Linked DNA regions of Homo sapiens: region 1 is linked to region 2. Evidence: promoter capture Hi-C in 16 types of primary human blood cells and fetal thymus (Javierre and others, 2016). All regions are on one chromosome and are shown on one strand. The core of a region is centred on a gene start or on the middle of the fragment in contact, and the rest is flanking DNA. Distances in the headings are between cores, read along the strand shown.

Evidence for each region. Contacts are between HindIII fragments. The CHiCAGO score rates a contact against its expected background, and 5 or more counts as called.
Region 1: a contact is called between a fragment that was not itself captured here and the fragment with the promoter of CABP5 in region 2, in 1 of 17 cell types (total CD8 T cells). The highest score is 5.6, in total CD8 T cells.

The regions. Positions count from the first base shown.
Region 1 is chr19:48,283,359-48,289,293 of GRCh38, forward strand. It overlaps ZNF114 (zinc finger protein 114), which reads left to right. Exons shown (of 6, transcript NM_153608.4): 6 at 2,403-4,250. The coding sequence ends at 3,520. Among named protein-coding and RNA genes, the nearest start is that of ZNF114-AS1, 14 kb to the left of the region's middle. The HindIII fragment of the contact is 1,576 bases long and covers 1,374-2,949 here.
Region 2 is chr19:48,040,439-48,046,427 of GRCh38, forward strand. It overlaps CABP5 (calcium binding protein 5), which reads right to left and starts at 3,641. Exons shown (of 6, transcript NM_019855.5): 1 at 3,422-3,641; 2 at 1,135-1,165; 3 at 167-310. The coding sequence starts at 3,484. The HindIII fragment of the contact is 2,868 bases long and covers 2,894-5,761 here.

The sequences.
Region 1 (5,935 bases), core at 912-3,411, 240 kb after region 2:
ACCCCAGCAAACCAAAGCCTGTGTCCATTTGACAGAAAGTCTCGGCACAGTTCCTTTATACCACATGCTTGCCCAGTGAGCAGGATTTCAACTAGGCAAACCCAGTCTGCCCTCTCATTTGGAGCAAGAAGTGGTCTGAAAACAGTGCAGGGCAGTTTTGTCCAGGCATTTATGCATCTCAGTACCAGGTAGATGTGAACATTACAGGACCAACAGGTTTGTAAGCCAGCAGCATGGTAACAGAGCAACAGGCTCGCCACTGAGACAGCAGGGTTTGCAACAGAGAAAAGAGAAAGTTGCATGATTACATGGTGCCAACCGAGGAGATGGGAGGAGACGCTCAAATTCTTCTCCCTGGGGGGTTCTGGGGTTTTTGTTTTTTTTTTGTTTTTGAGACTGTGTTTCACTCTTGTTGCCCAGGCTGGAGTGCAGTGGCGCGATCTCGGCTCACTGCAACCTCCACCTCCCGGGTTCAAGCAATTCTTCTGCCTCAGCCTCCCGAGTAGCTGGGATTATAGACATGCACCACCATACCTGGCTAATTTTTGTATTTTTAGTAGAGACGGGGTTTCACTGTGTTGGCCAGGCTTGTCTCAAACTCCTGACCTCAAGTGCTCCGCCCACCTCGGCCTCCCAAAGTGTTGGCATTACAGGCATGAGCCACTGCTCTCATTTTTAAGGGGATCATGGAGGATAAGGGACTGGAGAATTGGAGACGTTGATTGGTCAGAGGAAGGGGGATGAAATCATCGGGATGAGGAAAGTACATTCTTTGGTGCGTCAGTTTCTCACGGCATTCCTCAGATCAGTGAGCATAGTCATTTCATCAGAATGCAGGACCTGAAGGAATATCTCAAAGAGAAAACTTAATGTTTTATAATTTTCAAGTTGTTATCTACAGAGCAGCTAAGGAGACCTATAGGCCAGGCACAGTGGCTCACACCTGTAATCCTAGCACTTTGGGAGGCTGAGGCAGGAGGAGGATTACTTGAGGCCAGGAAGTCGAGACCAGCCCAGCCAACATGGCAAAACACTGTTCTTTTTGTCTTTAAAAACAATTTTTTTTTAATTAAAAGGAAAAAAAAAGAAAGAAAAAAACAGGCACTCTGTTGCCCAGGCTGGAGTGCAGTGGCTCAGTCTCAGCTCACTGCAATCTCTGCCTGCCGGATTCAAGTGATTCTCCTGCCTCAGCCCCCTGAGTAGCTGGGATTACAGGCACACGCCACCATGCCCAGCTAATTTTTCTATTTTTAGTAGAGACGGGGCTTCACCACATTGGCCAGGCTGGTCTCAAACGCCTGACCTCTGGTGATCCACCCACTTCAGCCTCTCAAAGTGCTGGGATTACAGGCGTGAGCCACTGTGCCTGTCCAAGCTTATGTTTTTTGACTTTTATCCATCCTCTCATATTTTCATTTTTCCCTGCTAAAGGCCTGTTCCTTTTCTCCTTAAAATTGCACATGGAGCCAGCTACTCGGGAGACTGAGGCAAGAGGATCACTTGATCCCAAGAGCTCAAGGCTGCAGTGTGCTGTGATCACACCTATGAATAGCCAGCCACTGCACTCCAGCACCTGGGCAACCTAGTGACACCCTCATCTCAAAAAAATAAAAATTTCACATGGACTCTCTGTCCAATTCTCTTCCACTTAGAATTCCTGATCGTTTCCTTGATCTCTGCAGAACTGTTCCTCAGTAACATGACACTCTCCATGTTGAACCCCTGACCTTACCGTCATCACATTCCTGACACTGCAGAATCTCTGATGTCTTTCTCTGCTTCCTTCCTCTTGCTTTCTTCCCCTTCACATTTTTATCATACATGTTGAGTGAACATTTAGAAAGAAATCCACACAGAGGCCTGGCGCGTTGGCTCATGCCTGTAATCCCAGCACTTTGGGAGGCTGAGGCAGGTGGATCACATGAGGCCAGGAATTCAAGACCAGCCTGGCCAACATGGTGAAACCCCATCTCAACTGAAAACACAAAAATTAGCCAGGCATGGTGGCACGCACCTGTAATCTCAGCTACTCAGGAAGCTGAGGCCAGAGAATTGCTTGAACCTGGGAGGCGGAGGTTGTAATGAGCCAAGATCATGCCACTGCACTCCAGCCTGGGCCACAGAGTAAGACTCTGTCTAAAGAAAAGAGAGAAAGACAGAGAGAACGAGAGAGAGAGAGAGGAAAGAAGGAAGGAAGGAAGGAGGAAGGAAGGAAGGGAAAGAAAGAGAAAAGAAAGAAAGGAAGGAAGGAAGGAAGAAAGAAAGGATGGAAGGAGCGAGGGAGGGAGGGAAAGAAAGAAAGAAAGAAAGAGAGAAATCCACACGGAGATTGCCTATGTCATCATCTCTAACCCACCTTTACTTTCAACAAAGAATTTAACTTTTGTGCCACTGTATTTCAGATTGGGCAACTCCATGTAAAACCAAAGACGCAACCCCTCAGCCGGATATTCTTCCTAAAAGAACATTTCCTGAAGCCAACAGAGTGTGTCTCACGAGCATCAGTTCCCAGCACTCCACATTAAGAGAAGACTGGAGATGCCCCAAAACAGAGGAACCACACAGGCAGGGGGTGAATAATGTGAAGCCACCTGCAGTTGCCCCTGAGAAAGATGAATCTCCTGTTAGCATTTGTGAAGATCATGAAATGAGGAACCACTCTAAACCTACCTGCAGGCTTGTGCCTTCACAGGGAGATTCCATAAGACAATGTATCCTAACACGTGACTCAAGTATTTTCAAGTATAATCCTGTCTTAAACGATAGTCAAAAAACACATGAAAACAACGAAGACGATGGAGTCTTGGGGTGGAACATTCAGTGGGTTCCGTGTGGGAGAAAAACAGAGCTGAAATCAAGCACATGGACTGGCAGTCAGAACACTGTGCATCATATACGTGATGAAATTGATACGGGGGCCAACAGGCACCAGCGGAATCCATTTGGAAAAGCTTTCCGTGAAGACGGATCCCTTAGGGCACACAACACTCATGGTCGAGAGAAAATGTATGATTTTACTCAGTGCGAGAACACCTCCAGAAATAACTCAATTCACGCCATGCAGATGCAGTTGTATACCGCAGAGACAAACAAGAAGGATTGTCAAACTGGGGCAACCTCTGCCAACGCTCCAAATTCCGGTTCACACAAGAGTCATTGCACTGGAGAGAAAACCCATAAATGCCCCGAATGTGGGAGAGCCTTTTTTTATCAGTCATTCCTTATGAGACATATGAAAATTCACACTGGAGAGAAACCGTATGAATGTGGGAAATGTGGGAAAGCCTTTAGATATTCCTTACACCTTAATAAACATTTAAGAAAGCATGTTGTGCAGAAGAAGCCCTACGAATGTGAAGAATGTGGGAAAGTCATTCGGGAGTCCTCAAAATATACACATATAAGGAGCCACACTGGAGAGAAACCCTATAAATGTAAGACATGTGGAAAAGACTTTGCAAAGTCGTCAGGACTTAAAAAACATCTTAAGACTCACAAAGATGAGAAGCCCTGTGAATGAAAGGAAGGTGGAAAATTTTTCATTAATTTTCTGACTGTACCAAACATGTGAGGAGGACATATTGGAAGGGAGCTCAAGGGGTTAGCATGAGTGAGAACATCTTCCCTGAACTCTCGTATCTTACAGAAATGTGAAAAAAAACCCTGTGAAGGTAAAGTCTACAGAAAGCCTTTCATCTTCATTCATCTTGAGTAGACATTTGTTCTCACCCTGGAGAGAAACTGCGAATCTAAAAGGAATATGACAAAGCCTTCAGCGTGGTCTCAAATTCATGGTTCATACAAGAACTCACACTGCAGAGACTCCTTACGGAAATAAAAAATGTAGGAAAGACCTGCCGGCCGCGGTGGCTCATGCCTGTAATCCCAGCACTTTGGGAGGCCGAGGCGGGCGGATCACGAGGTCAGGAGATCAAGACCATCCTGGCTAACACGGTGATACCCCGTCTCTACTAAAAATACAAAAAAAATTAGCCAGGCGTGGTGGCAGGTGCCTGTAGTCCCAGCTACTTGGGAGGCTGAGGTAGGAGAATGGTGTAAACCTGGGAGGTGGAGCTTGCAGTGAGCCGAGATGGAGCCACTGCACTCCAGCCTGGGGGAAAGAGCGAGACTCCGTCTCAAAAAAAAAAAAAAGTAGGAAAGACCTCTTTAAACACTTACCACTCATGTTGCATGTGAATCCACATCCTGAAGGGAGGCTACAACTGGAATAAAAATAAGAAAGCTTTCAAGGCCTGGTGCAGTGACTCACACCTGTAATCCTAGCACTTTGGGAGTCCAAGGTGGGGGATTGCTTGAGTCCAGGAGTTTGAGACCAGCCTGGGCAACATGGAGAAACCCCATCTCTACAAAAAAAAAAAAAAAAATGCAAAAATTAACCAGGAGTGGTAGCACATGCCTGTAGTCCCAGCTACCTGGGGAGCTGAGGCAGGAGGATCGCTTGAGCCTGGGAGCTTGAGGCAGCAGTGAGCTGTGTTTGCACCACTGCACTCCACCCTGGGTGACAAAGTGACACCCTGTCTCAAAAAAAAAAAGAAAGCTTTCAGGTCCAGCCTTTCACTTAGGCACAATGAGCGCACAGTAGGACTGAAACACTGTAAATGTTCATGATTTTCCAGTTTTTCCTTTCTAAAAAAAAAAATGCTACAAGATGAAGGATATCCCTCTTTGCACACTCCCAGCTCTGCCACATAAATGTTGGTATATAGCAGGTTCATTATAACTCACATACACGTGGTCTCATTTTCAATGTGAAGCCTTCTTTGAGCCTCATTCAATTTAGACTTGGGATTCATATACTCCATGATACCATTTTTGTCTTATTGGTCACTGTTCAACTGCATTATGGTCAGAGTATGTGGTCTTTCTGGTACCAACTTGGGTTACTTGTTATGACTTTGTCAGTCTAATGTGCCCTATTCTGTCAACTTCCCTGCCACCTCCATTCTTCTCATCTTCTTTACTAAGGGCACATAGATTCACTTTCCACAATGAGCACTATTTAATGTCTTATTTTTATTTTTATTTTATTTATGTATGTATTTATTTTGAGACAGAGTCTTGCTCTGTCACCCAGGCTGGAGAGCAGTGGGGCAATCTCGACTTACTGCAACCTCTGCCTCCTGGGCTCAAGTGATTCTCCTGCCTCACCCTCCCGAGTAGCTGGGATTACAGACACCCACCACCACGCCCAGCTAATTTTTCTATTTTTAGTAGAGACGAGATTTCACCACGCTGGCCAGGCTGGTCTCAAACTCCTGACCTCAAGTGACCTGCCTGCCTTGGCCTCCCAAAGTGCTGGGATTACAGGCATAAGCCACTGTGCCCGGCCTCTTTTCAATCTTTTAAAAGTTGGGAAACGGCCGGGCATGTTGGCTCATGCCTGTCACCCCAGCACTTTGGGAGGCCAAGGTGGGCGGATCGCCTGAGGTGAGGAGTTCGAGACCAGCCTGACCAACATGGAGAAACCCCATCTCTACTAAAAATATAAAATTAGCCAGGTGTGGTGGCTCACGCCTGTAATCCCAACTACTCAGGAGGCTGAGGCAGGAGAATTGCTTGCATCTGGGAGGCGGAGGTTGCGGTGAGCCGAGATTGTGCCATTGCACTCCAGCCTGGGCAACAAGAGTGAAACTTATCTCAAAAAAAGTAAAAATAAAAATAATAAAAAATAAAAGTTGGGAAATATGACTACCTGAAAATGCATGAAAATGTACATATACATTTTTTTTTTCGAGATGGAGTTTTGTTCTTGTTGCCCAAGCTGGAGTGCAGTGGCGTGATCTCCGCTTACTGCAACCTCTGCCTCCCAGGTTCAAGTGATTCTCCTGCCTCAGCCTCCTGAGTAGCTGAGATTACAGGCACCTGCCACCACGACATTTCAAAGTTAATAAAGTGATCACCCTTATACCCACCA
Region 2 (5,989 bases), core at 2,391-4,890:
TCAAATGCTGCCTTCCTGAGTCGAATCTGACCTGTTTTCTTCCAGACTTCTAGTCCCTCTCATCCTCCTCTCCACCCCCAACTCTACTCTTAACCTCTACATCCTTCCCAATTCTGCCCTGATCCCTTCCCTAACCCCGGCCATCCCTCCCATTCCCTGGACTCACGGTTCATGCGGATTTGCTGGCCGAGCTCAATCAGTTCCATCTCCGTGGGCATGTAACCCATCGTCCTCATGAGATTCCCCAGATCCTTACAAGAGATGAACCCATCTCGGTCCTTATCGAACTCAAGAAATGCTTCCCGCAGCTCTGAAAGTTAAGAGAGAACTTTGGGGGAACTTGAAGCAGTCAGTGGGGAAGAGTGGCATCTCTTGAAGCTATCAATGAGGCTCCAACTAGAGACTCCTTAAAGGAGCGTACATTAGAAACAAAACAAAACAAAACAAAAAAACCAAGGCCGGATGTGGTGGCTCATGGCTGTAATCCCAGCACTTTGGGAGGTCGAGGTGGGTGGATCACCTGAGGTGAGGAGTTTGAGGCCAGACTGACCAACATGGCAGAACCCCATCTCTACTAAATACAAAAAAATTAGCTGGGCATGGTGGCTCATGCCTTTGATCCCAGCTACTAGGGAGGCTGCCTCAGCCAAGGCAGAAGAATCGCTTGAACCTGGGAGGCGGAGGTAGCAGTGAGAGGAGATCGTGCCATTGCACTCCAGCCTGGCAACAAGAGCAAAACTCTGTCTCAAAAAAGAAAAAAAAATTCAAAAAGGAGTGATGTATGAAATGTGTTAGCAAAAGAGGCATCATTCCTGAGACCACTAAATGAGAGCACTGGCGTCCTTCAGATTCCTGGATGAAGTTATGGGGAACCTCAAAGTCACCAAGAGAGAAACTCATTTGTTTTCACTCCTGAGTCTTGGAGATACTTGAGGATGGATATGCCTTCGAAATACTTTGGGAAGTCCTTCAACTGCCACGAGAAAGAGTTCTACAAAATTACAGTTGAGTGGGAAGAGAGAGGGATTGTAAAAATTCCATGTAATGGAATTTATACGGAAATGCACAAAGGGACTGAGGGCAGGTCAGGTGGGTGGATGGCAACGTGGAAGCAACTGGGGAAGACGGTGTTACCTTCAATCTCATCTTGTCCCAGTGGTCTTTCCTGGAAAGGAATGCAGATGAGAGGGAATTTGGAGAGAGGGTCACCCATTCTCCAAAGGGTCTCCTTGTTCTCCCAAGCTCCTCCCCACGCTCTCGTGGTTCTCTTTCCATTCTCTCTCTCCTCCTCCATCCCTCCCATTCCTTTTCCCATCTCCTGACTCCTGTTCCACAGTTCTTGGCTCCCCACCCCCCTCTCGATGTCTCTCTCCCACCCACGAATCCCAATCTCCCTTTTTCTCCCTTTCTGAGACAAACACCCATCACATTGTGTCAAAGGGGGTCTTAAACACTGGGGAGTCCAATCTCCAGATGAAAAAAGTGAGACTTCACAACCACAGCTAACTCATTCAGAGTGGTGACTCTGTGCCAGGCAGTTTCCACAATCATTTCATTTAAACCTCAGTACTGCTCTGTGATGCAGATCTACATCTCGTTTCCATCTTACCCATGAGAAAGCTGAGGAACAGAGAGGTTAAGGAACCTGCACAAGGTCACACAGCTCACAAGCAGCAGATCCCCTCCCAAGGGAGGAAGGCATTCACCTGCTCCCTGGAGGTCATGGGGCAAGTCAGACACAGTATTGGGATTTGAATTCAGGGCTCCTGACTCCCAAGTCAGAATTCTTCACACTAGCCCCCATTCACTCCTTTCTCACCTGCCTCCAATCTTCCTGCCAAAGGTTAGAATCTCTGTGCATGGAAACAGCATTCAATGGCTTTCAGGCAGGAGGGTCAGTGCCAGCATGACCAGTTCCTAAACACTCTGAGAATGTCCAGTTATTGCTGCCCCACCTACTCCTGCACATACCTGAAGGGTTGGGCTTACATATACATGGCATGTTAACAAGGAAATTCTACTGACCTCTGGTCTCTTTAGCCTTCCCATCTCCCTTTATCCCTGGAGCCTTTCCCTCAGCTTCTCTTTCATCTGATCCCCTCCTTGCGGTCCCTTATCACCCTTTTTTTCATTCTCTCTCTCTTTTTTTTTTTTGAGACACAGTCTCGCTCTGTCACCCAAGCTGGAGTGCAGTGGCACGAACTCGGCTCACTGCAACCTCTGCCTCCCGGGTTCAAGCGATTCTCCTGCCTCAGCCTCCCGAGTAGCTGGGATTACAGGCGCCTGCCACTGCACCCGGCTAATTTTTGTATTTCTAATAGAGACAGGGTTTCACCATCTTGGCCAGGCTGGTCTTGACCTCCTGACCTCGTGATCCACCTGCTTTGGCCTCCCAAAGGGCTGGGATCACAGGCGTGAGCCACTGCCTGGCCTTTTTTATTCTCTTTTTTTGGTGATCTTAAAGCCTAACAATGAAAAGTATGCCCACATATCTGGACAAGTTGGTATATATGGAAAAATAAAAAAATTTTAAAAAGCATGCCCACAGGAATCAAGCAAACCCGACCCTGCCACTTACTTTTTTTTAACGAGACAAAGTCTCACTTTGTTGCCCAGGCTGGAGTGCAGTGGCATAATCAGGGCTCACTGCAGCCTCCACTTCCTGGGCTCAAGCGATCCTCCTGCCTCAGCCACCTGAGTAGCTGGGACTGCAGATGCATGCCACCATGCTGAGCTATTTTTTTGTATTTTTAGTAGAGATGGGGTCTTGTGTTTCCCAGGCTGGTCTCAAACTCCTGGACATAAGTGATCCTCCCGCCTCTGCCTCCCAAGATGCTGCGATTCAGGCATGAGCCACTATACTTGGCCGACCCTGCCACTTACTAACTGTGTAAGCTTAAGGCAAATGACTTCATGACTCAGAGCTTCACTTTCCTCACCTGTAAAATGGGAATGAAAGTCACTGACCTCATGAGTTGTTCTGAGGTGTAAATAACATCAGGTGTGCAAATCCCTTTGCACAGGGCTGGGCACAGAACAATGACTTAATAAGTGGCAGCTATTGTTATTAACGTCATCATTATCATCACCACCACCACCATCATCACCACCATTATCACAATGAGCATCCATAGAAAAGAATGATGGTAATCTCAACAATGACATCATCCCACTTTCCCTTTTCATTTTTCTTCCTTTTCTCTCCTTCTCTTTGCTCCTGACTTTTGATTTTACCCCCACCCATTTATCTCACTGGCTTACATGACCCCACCAGGGTCCTTGGAATTTCTTATACCTTCTCAGCTCCTGCTCTATCCACCTGTTCCCCTGGTTCTGTGGCACCATCATGTCCCCTTCTTTGTCCCACACCCCTGCTCCCTTTGCCCCGCCCACCGCCCTTCCCCCTCACTCCCCACCTCACCCGCTGTTTCTCAGCAATGCCTTTCCTCAAGAAGATGCAGGCGGGGCCCATGGGGAACTGCATGGAGGGGTGGGGTGGAGCTCGCAGGGCACCAGTCTCAAGATGGCCCCTCCTCCCTGCTCCCTGTCGGAGCTCAGCCTCCTTATCTTCTCCAGCACTCCTTTGCCACCTCTTCCTGCCTCTCTTGGCTTCTCCTTCGGTCCCGGTGTCTTAGAGCTGTGACAGCTGGGCTGGAAATCTCTACCCGGGTTGGGGAGGGACCAGAGCTGTCCCTGCCTCCCCATCTGGCTTGAATGATATGGGTGGGGAAATGCAGAGTCAGGTTCTGTGACGCCTTTATCCCCAGAGTGGAATTGGAAAGTGCATTTTATAAATGGGGATTAGAGGCTGGATGTGGTGCTCATGTCTGTAGTCCCAGCGCTTTGGGAGGCTGAGGTGGGAGGATTGCTTGAGCCCAGGAGTTTGAGACCAGCTGAGCAACATACGGAGAGGCTGTCTTTACAAAAAATAAAAAAATTAGCCGTGCATGGTGGCACACACCTGTAGTCCCAGCTGCTCCAAAGGCAGAGATGGGAGGATTGCTTGAGCCCAGGAGTTCAAGGCTGCAGTGAGCTATGATTGTACCATTGCACTCCAGGCTGCAGTGAACTACGATTGCACCATTGTACTCCAGCCTGGCTGACATAGTGAGACCCTGTCTCGAAAAAAAGAAAAAAAAAGAAAAAAAAGAAAAGAAAATGGAGGATTAGAGCAGACGGCATCATTTATTCAATGTTCCAACAAGCATGTGAAGGGTCACTCCAACACTGGCCTCTGGGCAGTGAGATGGAGAGCTCAGCACCCCTGGCCTCAGGGAGTTTTCCTGGGTGAGTCGGGAATGTGTGAGAGTGAGCAGGATGCAAGCATGGACTTCAGGAAGTGGGCGTACACGGTGACTAAGAGCATGGCATTTGCTCTTCCTCTGTTCATCTCTTTCCTTCTGTCTTTCCTGAATGATTTAGAGGGAAAAAGCAAGGTGGGGGTGTCAGGGAGGGTGTGAAGTTATGGTGGTGTCAAAGCCCAAAGGGGTTTTGCGACTCCACACTAGGTAGGGTTAGGGGAGGAGGGGGCTGGGGGCCATCTGGCGTGGAGAGCCAGCATTCCAGTGGGGTAGTGGGGTGAGGAGAAGTCCACATAGAGGGGCAGCATGACCCAGGGTGTTGGGGCTGGAGATGGTGGGGATAAATCCACAGATGGGCAGCTTGGTGTGCAGTGTTGGAACATGAGCTGAGTGGGGCGGGGGCATTTATATGCAGGCATTGTCTGGGGTGGAGGTTTGCACTGTAAGGCAATTAGGAAGGAGGCCACATAGAGGGGATCTGGCATGGGTTGTCATAACCCAAGCAGAGAGAGAAATGTCCACTCATGGGAATAGCATGGTGTATGGTGTTGAAGCCAGACTAGGCTGGGAAAGACATCCCCACAGGGGTGAAATGGCAAAGGAAAAGGGAAATTGGCTACACACAGTGAGTAAGGGGAATGGGGGCCAGGTCTCCTACTGTTGGAAAAGGGAGTTACTAAGACAGAAAGGAGGAAAGTCGAATGAGCCCTGTGGTGTTGGACTATAACTGGAGGCGTTGGTATGTCCTCATGGATCTCAATTATACATAGAGAGATAAAAATAAACACATAGTTTCAGTGTGTATAGGAACATTTGTACACATATTCTCTAGCTCTCTCCACTAAGAGAACATAGAAACAATGATGGCCCATATGAATGAGCACCACTAGCATCCAAATCTTGACTTCTATATACCATTCTCCACCAAATGGAACCAGAGTGCCTAGGAAATTTGGCTGATTCCATGTCTAGAGCAAAAAAAGAACAAGATGAGCCTACAAACGTCCTATGCTTAAAGCAAGAAATTGCTCAAAGTGTTGTGAGAACATGTGGAAAGAACACAGGAGTCTGCTTGAAGAAGCTCCATTGGCCATACTGGGCAGTTTGAGAGTCAAAATAAATAATGATAGTAACAAATTATACAGGACCACAGAAGAAACCAGGAGTCCATACTCAGATAAATAAAAAGCTAAGTGAGAAGTTTGATATTTACAGAGCTCAAAATACCTCCCTACAAAATACCAATTTCAAAGGAGTTACGTTATAGTGGAGAAACGTGGCAAACACCATCTTAGTCAATGAAAGTGGACATCATCAGTAATGTGACAAGTTGGAATTTCACACCACCTGACAGGATGTCACGAGAACAGCATCGCTTCTGTAAGATTCCTGAATCTCATCATAATCAGACGTCAGACGAACCCACATGGAGGGATGGTTTACAAAATAACTGGCCTGTAAGCTTCAAAAATGTCAAGGTCATGAAAATCAAGGAAAGATTGAGGAACCGTTCGAGATTGGAGGAGACTAAGAAGACATGGCCGAGGCTGGGCGCGATGGCTCACACCTGTAATCCCAGCAATTTGGGAGGCTGAGGTGGGCAGATCACCTGAGGTCAGGAGTTCGAGACCAGCCTAACCAACGTGGAGAAACCCCGTCTCTACTAAAAATACAAAAAAATTAGCCCG